Regions from separate parts of the Homo sapiens genome. Here region 2 is linked to region 1. Evidence: promoter capture Hi-C in human tissues and cell types (Jung and others, 2019). All regions are on one chromosome and are shown on one strand. The core of a region is centred on a gene start or on the middle of the fragment in contact, and the rest is flanking DNA. Distances in the headings are between cores, read along the strand shown. Region 1 holds the start of ATP13A5 (ATPase 13A5). Region 2 has its middle 61 kb from the start of PLAAT1.

The links. Contacts are between HindIII fragments. The study calls those that stand out against the background at their distance.
Region 2: a contact is called between a fragment that was not itself captured here and the fragment with the promoter of ATP13A5 in region 1, in 2 of the 25 tissues and cell types used here (aorta and stomach).

What each region holds. Positions count from the first base shown.
Region 1 is chr3:193,376,659-193,381,575 of GRCh38, reverse strand. ATP13A5 (ATPase 13A5) reads left to right here and starts at 2,823. Exons shown (of 30, transcript NM_198505.4): 1 at 2,823-2,913. The coding sequence starts at 2,851. The HindIII fragment of the contact is 10,323 bases long and covers 1-4,917 here.
Region 2 is chr3:193,177,714-193,182,613 of GRCh38, reverse strand. No RefSeq gene overlaps it. Among named protein-coding and RNA genes, the nearest start is that of PLAAT1, 61 kb to the left of the region's middle. The HindIII fragment of the contact is 3,807 bases long and covers 368-4,174 here.

The DNA of each region.
Region 1 (4,917 bases), core at 1,574-4,073:
GCCACTGCCACCATTCCTGAGGCTGCTTCTCCCAGAAGAGATGCCCTCAACCCTCCAGCACGTGTATAAACATAAAAGGTGACTCTTCCACCCATGTGCCTACAAGGGACTGGCTAAGCCATTGAGGCATGACTGGATCTTCACGTTGCTTATGGGGGTCTGGCATTAGGTCCTATAAGCTATAATGTCTGTTGCAGACCTTCCAGGAGGCAGGGTTTAATGCCATGTGATTACTTTCTTCACAGAGCTTGTCCTCTGGTGGCTAAAGCAATGCTCAGTACTTAAAGACCCTCGAGATTATCTAATACAAACTTTGCCCTGATGAATCCATCATATGGTAAATGGGCCCAATGTCAGCATTCACATCTCTGGGACCTGGAAGCTCAGTGCCTCCAAGACATTTATGAGCATTGGGATTATTCAAAGACTTTAATTTGAAGTGGGTATTTTGTACTTGTACAGGGCAAAGAGTGTTGGTTCCTCAGTGGGAAGGAGCTGAGGCCTTGGGTCTTGGCCGGTGGACAGACAAGAGTCCAGCTCGCCATGGTTGACAAGCTCTTCTTGAGCACACCTTTGTTTGCATCTCCATCATAATTATTACTCATCACTTCCCATCTTTCTAGTCTCAAGTCTTACTTTTATTCCCCTTAATGCCCCGAATAGGTGCTCCTTTCCCACCTCGCTTGACCCTTTCCACACCTTCTGCTCCCAGCCTAGACTGTGCTCACCAGATGCCACTATCCCCCATTCTTTCTATCTGTTAACTTCTGCTTATCTTTGAGATGTCAGAATAAATGTCACTTCCTTTGGGAACCTGTTTGTATTCCATTAAATCTGAGTTTAGTATATTTCCCAATTAAGAGGCTGCTTAGTTATCTGTCATTCCCAAGTAACTATAAACTCTCTCAGGATAGGGGCTCTTTCCTTTACACCATTGTATTCGAGGGCCTAGCACAATGTCTGGAACATCTGTTTTCCAGTACATAATTGTTGAGTAAAAGTGGAATGGAGTCAAGACCAGTGCTATGTATATCTTTGGACTATATGTAACAGAAAACCCAAGCAAGAGTGGCTTTATGAGAATGTTTAATTGTGTATTTAATGTGGTGTTTAGGGGTAGGTAGGTCCATGAATCAGTGGTGTTATAGGCATATAACTTCTTTTGTCCTTTTCTCACCGTAATTTTCATGGTGATTTGCATCCTCCTCACCACCTAAAGATGGCTACCATGCTCCAAGCATTGCATTTTCATGGATCACTTTCAAAGAAAGGCAGAAAGGGGAAGACAGAAAAAAATGTTCTTCTCTCTGTTTCATCAACAAGATAACCTTTCCCACAAGACCATGTCTTTCTCTTCTATTTCATTGTTTAGAACTGGGCCACACGCCGACCCATAGACAAATCATTGACTCATCTTGGTGCTTTTAGCTGAAGTCATGCTGCACAAAGTTGGGGTTCTTTCAGCAAGAAATACAAGTAAATAGCGGATGGGTAAGAAGTGAATGATAGCCACCACTCGTGTCTTTAATGAAGTTTTACTAAAATCCAGAACTCCTTTCTTCAAATATGCATTTTACCTTAGATTGGTACTACTTACAAGGCAACATTCACACCGGCACATTATACTTCAGTATGGGTACCTCGGGAGCCTCTGGCATGAAGAGCTCTAGTTGTCTTCCTGTTTATTCTCATCAGCCACTTTCTCCTGGCCAGAGAGCACGTTGATCTCTCCTGAACACCAAGTTGGACACTTATGCCTGCTCAAGGCAATCAGTGTCTATTTCAGTCAGCAGAAACAGCCAAGTATCATCCCTAATAGTTTTCATTCCCAGCAAATTTTCTTCCATAGTCAAAGTGCAAGGATACAATAAGAGCCAATAAAATGACAAAAGTTTTCATCACAAACAAATTAACTGACTCTGGAATGGATCACAGTATACCTATTTTCTAATCAAAATATCAAATTCAGTGGTGTTGAAATTTGGGCTATATCCTTAATCCTCGGACTTTCTAGCATCTCTTCCCTCCACATACTTTGCTCATTTGAAAACTTTTGTAAACTCTAAAGAGAAAATGAAAAGAATCAAGTTATTAATATAGTTTACTTTTTAAAGCCTCTTTCTTCTTGGTTAGTGTAATGATTATGATGATGATTATTTCTCTCTTAGTGACTGTGGTGGGTGCTATCGTTGGCTTTTTATGACTATCATCTTAAATCTTTATATTACTGTATAGTTATTATTGACATTTTATGTACTAGAAACTGAAATTCCAGATTTTAAGTGATTTGTCCAGGGTCTTCAGTGAAGCACGGATTAGAACTCAGATTTTTCTAATTCCAAAATGATTCCTACATTCTCTATCATGAGCCTACCTCCCTTCCTTCAATTCTCATTGTCACCCCCAATATGTTCATTACTTTTTCAAAGTCTGCAGGGTTTTTATACATCTCTCACTGGCTAATCCTTTTATCTTAGGTTTTTAGCAAAGTGACTATTCTCATTCCTTGGCTGAGACATTTATGGATCGCATACAAAATGATTTCTCCTTCTAGTTTGCCAACTTCTTCCCCCGTCATTCCTCAGGTCTTGAGGCACTCATATCTAGCTCAATAAACAAACACTAGGAAAAAAACCCACAATAACCAGATTAACAGACCAATCCTGTTCCTGAGAAGATTTTCTCTCTTTCCTTTGTTAGTCTAATAGGCAAGGTGTGTACTAAGAGATTTTAAAAGCGCCTGGGAAGAGCAATCACAAGTTGTGACGATTCCAAGTTCACAGAAGCCCAAGGGATTTTGACATTTCTCCAAGGAGTTAGCCAGAAGAGATCCTCGCCGGTTGAGTTCAGATGGAAGAGAACAGTAAGAAGGACCATCGGGCTTTGCTCAACCAGGGAGAGGAGGATGAACTGGTGAGTCTTCCCTTTATTTTATTAGTCTTCTCAAAGAGCCCAAGGCGGTGAGTATGGGCTACAGCTGAATTAGAAAATAGAGTGTAGCATTTATGCTTCAGGCTTTAGGACCTTGAAAGGTTTCAGTCTGGTAAGGTTCCTTAAGGGCTGCAAAGCACCATTTTATTGTGGGGAAACCTGCAGGGGCTGAGAAACTTGTGACCTCTGGATGATAGAATTCTTGCCATCTTCATATGAACCTGTGATGTTTCCTCGCACATTTACAGTATTTGCAGAGCCCCGCATGGTGCTCAGTGGGGTGTCTCCCCCTTATTATCTGGATTGCTATGTGATGGAACAAACTCTATTGAAAACAAGAACTCTTTTTTATTCTCGTGCTTTGGGTATGTATGCATAACCTAGGCTTAGGGGGCTCTGGGCTGAAGTCATGCTTTTTATAAGCGCAGAGAGAAGTTTTAAGCATCAATTACTAAAGAAGGAGTAGAATGTGGCCTGGGATTTTTAACACATATTTTAAACATTTCTCATGTCTCCAATTTTTTCCCCACTCTTGTTTTCATCAAACACACACACACACACACACACACATTTAAAAATAATAATTAAAAAGTTGAAAACTATAGTGTTTATTTGGTGCTGAGGTGTTTATATTTATGATTTTATATAATCCTCAGACCTCAGTGATGAAAGAACTAATCCTATTTAATTGAAAAGAAATCTGAGACCAGGGAGGTTAAATAACTTGCCCAAGGTCATTAGCCTGCAAGGGACAGGCTGGGAATCCAGCCGACTCCTTCTCCACATCCTGTGCTGTTCACCATACAACAGTGGCTCCAGCTAGACAATGAAGAAAGGAGACAGAGACAGACAGGGGAAGGGTCAGAGTGAGGGCACATTTGGGGGCCCCAAAGAACTTGGAGAACATGGTTTGTAGATTAGAATGATGTCAGTTTCCTGGCTGGCATCCTGGTTCCCTGTGAGATCTGGGGCAAATCCATACCGGCTCTCCCTCCACCTATCCCTGTTTGCTACTCTAAGGAAAACATATGATTTCATCTACATCTATGTTGTTCAATAAGGCAGCCATGGGCCACGTGTAGTTTCTGAGCACTAGAAAAGTAGCTAGTCCACACAAAATATGCTTTATGTGTAAAATACGCACCAGATTTTGAAGAATTTAGTAAAAAAAAGTAAAACATCTTATTAATAATTTTTATATTGTTTACACATTGAAATGACAATATTTTAGATAGCTTAGGTAAAAATTTCACCTGCTTCTCTTTACATCTTTAATGTGGCTGCTAGGAACGTTAATATTAAGAAGGCAGCTCATATTTGTGGCTTGCATTATTGTAGCACGCTAAGCTTGACAATAGCACAGCACTTTAAAATCTTCAGAATTAAAGCTTTTAAAGAATGAAAATCTATTCACCTGTGTTCACTGCTGAACAATTCTGTTAGCTCTGATGTTTTCAACATGTAGATAAGAGTGCATGAAAAATTACATTGCTCTTTATTCTTCTCTAACTAGTTGCTTTATTTGTAAAGTTTATAGCCTGATACTTTAATTCTCTCACTCACAAACAGGACATTGGTATCATAGGATTAAATAATGAGCCAGGTGCCCCAGTTTTCTTCATTTTTGCAGGTGATCAAACCCTTTTACAGACACTCACCAGAAATGTCTATTAGGAATCCAAGTAAGCTTAACTCATTGTGGGGAAGGGGAGATGGCTCTAGATTTCTTTTTCAGAATTCTGGGGCGTAGAGCACAGATGCAAATCCTATTCTGGTTGATCAGGTAATCCACAGACTCCGCTAGGCCTGAGGGAGCTGGGGTGACCGAACTGTGGAAGCTGTGACTTAGCTCCAGGCAATTGCTGAACTGATCTTGCAATTGCTAGCCTTTTAGAAGGAAGCCGGATGGGGAACAACACATACTGGGGCCTATCAGAAGGTGGGAGATGGGAGAAGGGAGAGCATCAGGAAGAATAGCTAATGGAT
Region 2 (4,900 bases), core at 1,022-3,521, 200 kb after region 1:
TGGATTCATTGATTTTTTGAAGGGTTTTTTGTGTCTCTGTCTCCTTGAGTTCTGCTCTGATCTTAGTTATTTCTTGCCTTCTGCTAGCTTTTGAATTTGTTTGCTCTTGCTTATCTAGTTCTTTTAATTGTGATGTTAGGGTGTCAATTTTAGATCTTTCCTGCTTTCTCTTGTGGGCATTTATGGTGCTATAAATTTCCCTCTACACACTGCTTTAAATGTGTCCCAGAGATTCTGGTATGTTGTGTCTTTGTTCTCACTGGTTTCAAAGAACATCTTTATTTCTGGCTTCATTTCGTTATTTACCCAGTAGTCATTCAGGAGCAGGTTGTTCAGTTTCCATGTAGTTCTGTGGTTTTGAGTGAATTTCTTAATCCTGAATTCTAATTTGATTGCACTGTGGTCCGAAAGACAGTTTGTTGTGGTTTCAGTTCTTTTACATTTGCTGAGGAGTGCTTTACTTCCAATTATGTGCTCAATTTTAAAACAAGTGTGATGTTGTGCTGAGAAGAATGTACATTCTGTTGATTTGGGATGGAGAGTTCTGTAGATGTCTATTAGGTCTGCTTGGTGCAGAGCTGAGTTCAAGTCCTGGATATCCTTGTTAACTTTCTGACTCATTGATCTGTCTAATATTGACAGTGGGGTGCTAAAGTCTCCCATTATTATTGTGTGGGAGTCTAAGTCTCTTTGTAGGTCTCTGAGGACTTGCTTTATAAATCTGGATGCTCCTGTATTGGGTGCATATATGTTTAGGATAGTTAGCTCTTCTTGTTGAATTTGATCCCTATACCATTATGTAATGGTCTTCTTCGTCTCTTTTGATCTTTGTTGGTTTAAAGTCTGTTTTATCAGAGACTAGGATTGCAACCCCTGCTTTTTTTTTCTTGCTTTCCATTTGCTTGGTAGATCTTCCTCCATCCCTTTATTTTGAGCCTATGTGTGTCTCTGCACGTGAGATGGGTCTCCTGAATACAGCACACTGATGCGTCTTGACTCTTTATCCAATTTGCCAGTCTGTGTCTTTTAATTGGGGCATTTAGCCCATTTACATTTAAGGTTAATATTGTTATGTGTGAATATGATCCCTTCATTATGATGTTAGCTAGCTATCTTGCCCGTTAGTTGATGCAGTTTCTTCCTAGCATCGTTGGTGTTTACAATTTGGCATGTTTTTGCAGTGGCTGATACTGGTTGTTCCTTTCCATGTTTAGTGCTTCCTTCAGGAGCTCTTATAAGGCAGGCCTGGTGGTGACAAAATCTCTCAGCATTTGCTTGTCTGTAAAGGATTTTATTTCTCCTTCACTTATGAAGCTTCGTTTGGCTGGGTATGAAATTCTGGGTTAAAAATTCTTTTCCTTAAGAATGTTGAATATTGGTCCCCACTCTCTTCTGGCTTGTAAGGTTTCTGCTGAGAGATCTGCTGTTAGTCCGATGGGCTTCCCTTTGTGGGTAACCTGACCTTTCTCTCTAGCTGCCCTTAACATTTTTTCCTTCATTTCAACCTTGGTGAATCTGACAATTATGTGTCTTGGAATTGCTCTTCTCAAGGAATATCTTTGTGGTATTCTCTGTATTTCCTGAATTTGAATGTTGGCCTGCCTTGCTAGGTTGGGGAAGTTCTCCTGGATAATATCCTGAAGAGTGTTTTCCAACTTGGTTCCATTCTCCCCATCACTTTCAGTTACACCAATCAAACATAGATTTGGTCTTTTCACGTCATCCTATATTTCTTGGAGGCTTTGTTCATTTCTTTTTACACTTTTTTCTCTAAACTTGTCTCTCGCTTTATTCCATTAATTTGATTTTCAATCACTGATACCCTTTCTTCCACTTGATCGAATTGGCTATTGAAGCTTGTGCATGTGTCACAACGTTCTTGTGCCATGGTTTTCAGCTCCATCAGGTCATTTAAGATCTTCTCTACACTGTTTATTCTAGTTAGCCATTCGTCTAACCTTTTTTCAAGGTTTTTAACTTCCTTGTGATGGGTTAGAACGTGCTTCTTTACCTCAGAGAAGTTTGTTATTACCGATCTTCTGAAGCCTACTTCTGTCAACTCGTCAAAGTCATTCTCCATCCAGCTGTGTTCCGTTGCTGGCAAGGAGCTGCAATCCTTTAGAGGAGAAGAGGCACTCTGATTTTTAGAATTTTCAGCTTTTCTGCTCTGGTTTTTCCCCATCTTTGTGGTTTTATCTACCTTTGGTCTTTGATGCTGGTGACCTACAGACCTACAGATGGGGTTTTGGTGTAGATGTCCTTTTTGTTGATGTCGATGCTATTCCTTTCTGCTTGTTGGTTTTCCTTCTAGCAGTCAAGGCCCTCAGCTGCAGGTCTGTTAGAGTTTGCTGGAGGTCCACTCCAGACCGTGTTTCCCTGGGTATCACCAGCAGAGGTTGCAGAACAGCAAATATTGCAGAGCAGTAAATATTGCTGCCTGATCCTTCCTCTGGAAGCTTTGTCCCAGAGGAGCACCCACCTGTATGAGGTGTCTGTCAGCCCCTACTGGGAGGTGTCTCCCAGTTAGGCTACACAGGGGTCAAGCGCCCATGTGAGGAGGCAGTCTGTCTGTTCTCAGAGCTCAAACGCCATGCTGGGAGAACCACTGCTCTCTTCAGAGCTGTCAGACGGGGATGTCTAAGTCTGCAGAAGTTGTCTACTGCCTTTTGTTCAGCTATGCCCTGCCCACAGAGGTGGAGTCTACAGAGGCAGTAGGCCTTGCTGAGCTGCAGTGGGCTCCACCCAGTTCGAGCTTCCTGGCTGCTTTGTTTACCTATTCAAGCCTCAGTAATGGCAGATGCCCCTCCCCCAGCCAGGCTGCTGCCACACAGTTCAATCTCAGACTGCTGCACTAGCAGTGAGCAAGGCTCTGTGGGCATGGGACCTGCGGAGTCAGGCACTGGAGAGAATCTCCTTGTCTGCTGGTTGCTAAGACCTTGGGAAAAGCACAGTATTTGGGCTGGAGTGTCCCGTTTTTCCCAGTACAGTCTGTCATGGCTTCCCTTGTCTAGGAAAGGGAAATCCCCTGATCCCTTGCACTTCTCGGGTGAGGCAATGCCCCACTCTGCTTCAGCTCACCCTCCATGGGCTGCACTCACTGTCCGACCAGTCACAATGAGATGAGCCAGATACCTCAGTTGTAACCACAGAAATCACCTGTCTTCTGCATTGATCACACTGGGAGCTGAAGACCGGAGCTGTTCCTACTCAGCCATCTTGGAATGGAAGCCCATAGATTACTTTTTTAAAAGCATGATTTCTATGCGATTTATTCATTAGCTCATTTTAAAATTCATTTAGCAAACTTATATGGAGCACCCAGCTGTTAAGTGTATCAGGTCCAGTCCTTGACATAGAGGATACGGTAATAAAAAGAAAAGACTAAATCCCTGTGGTGAGAAAATTTACATGACAGTGGGAGAAGAAAGGTATAAATAAAAACATACAGAACACATTGGTTGTTAATAAGCACTCAAAAGAAAATAAATTGCATTATGATGTACAGAGAAAAAGATTGGCAGGTGGAGGCTGCTATTTTATAGATACTGGTCGAGGAAACACTTTCCAATAAGATGACATTTAAACTGAGGCCTGAGTGAAGTGAGGAACTGAGTCATTAGCAATAGTATTCCAGTTAGAGGTAACAGCAAGTGCTATGACCTTGAATATGCTTAATGTGCTGAAGAACAGCAAAGTGATCATTATGGCTAAAGTAGAGAAGGAATTGGGAAGTAAATCATGCAAGGCTCTATGATTAGAAGCCACTGGACATTGTAAGCAGAGGAACGGAATATTTTTTCATTTATATCTTGAAAGGCTTATTCTGGTTGTTGAGTGTAGATAGTAACTAACGGGCAATGGAAGGCAGAGTTTTCTTTCAGAAAACCCTTTAATAGATAGGGTCTATGGAAGGTTCAGGCCTTGGACCAGGGTAGCAGGATGGAAGAGCTGGGAAGTGACCTGATTCTGGATATAGTTGGATGATAAAGTCAATAGGATTCGCTAATGGATTGACTAAGACTTATGGAATAAGGAAAGGGGTCAAAGTAGGTGTTGGAATTACAATGGTAAACAAAACAGACAGGGCCCTGACCTCAGGGAGTTTATCTACTGGTGGAATAGGCAGCCAATAAACAAATAAATGTGATTACATTTTGTGATGAGTACTGAAAAGGAGACAGCAGAGGCTATTGCTACAAAATAACAAGGGGTGCCTGCTTATAGTAGAGTAGTCAGGGGCGGCCTCTACCAGAAAGGGGTATTTAAGCTAACGCCTGAAGAATGAGAAGGAACCTGCCATGCAAAGATGCAGGGGTACAGTGATCAGTTGGAAGTTCCAGCAAACATAACAGCCTGGAGGTCTCAGGGCTGAAAAGAAGAAGAAGAAGTCAGGAATTAAAGCAATCTGTCTAGTCTTAAACCTGTTGTGTTCAACTCTCACCTGCTCTAGCACAACGGCTTTCAAGATGTGATCTGTGGACCCCAGAGTTCCCTGAGACCTTTTTAGGGCTGTCTATAAGGTCAAAACTCTTTTCATATGAATACTAAGACATTATTTTCACTTTTCCTATACATTCTTTCATGAGTATACAATGTTTTTCAAAGGCTACAAGACATATAATATCACAACAGATTTTTTTGAGATGGACAGGGTCTTGCTCTGTCATCCAGGCTAGAGTGCAGTGGCACAATCACAGCTCACTGCAGCCTTGAACTCCTGGGCTCAAGTGATCCTCCTGCCTCAGCCGCCCAAGGAGCTGGGACTACGGGTACATGTCACCCTGCCTGGCTAATTTTTTTTGTGTGTGTAGAGATGGGGTCTCCCTACGTTGCCTAGGATGGTCTCGAATTCCTGGCCTTAAGCCATCCTCCTGCCTCGACCTCCCAAAGTGATCACAAC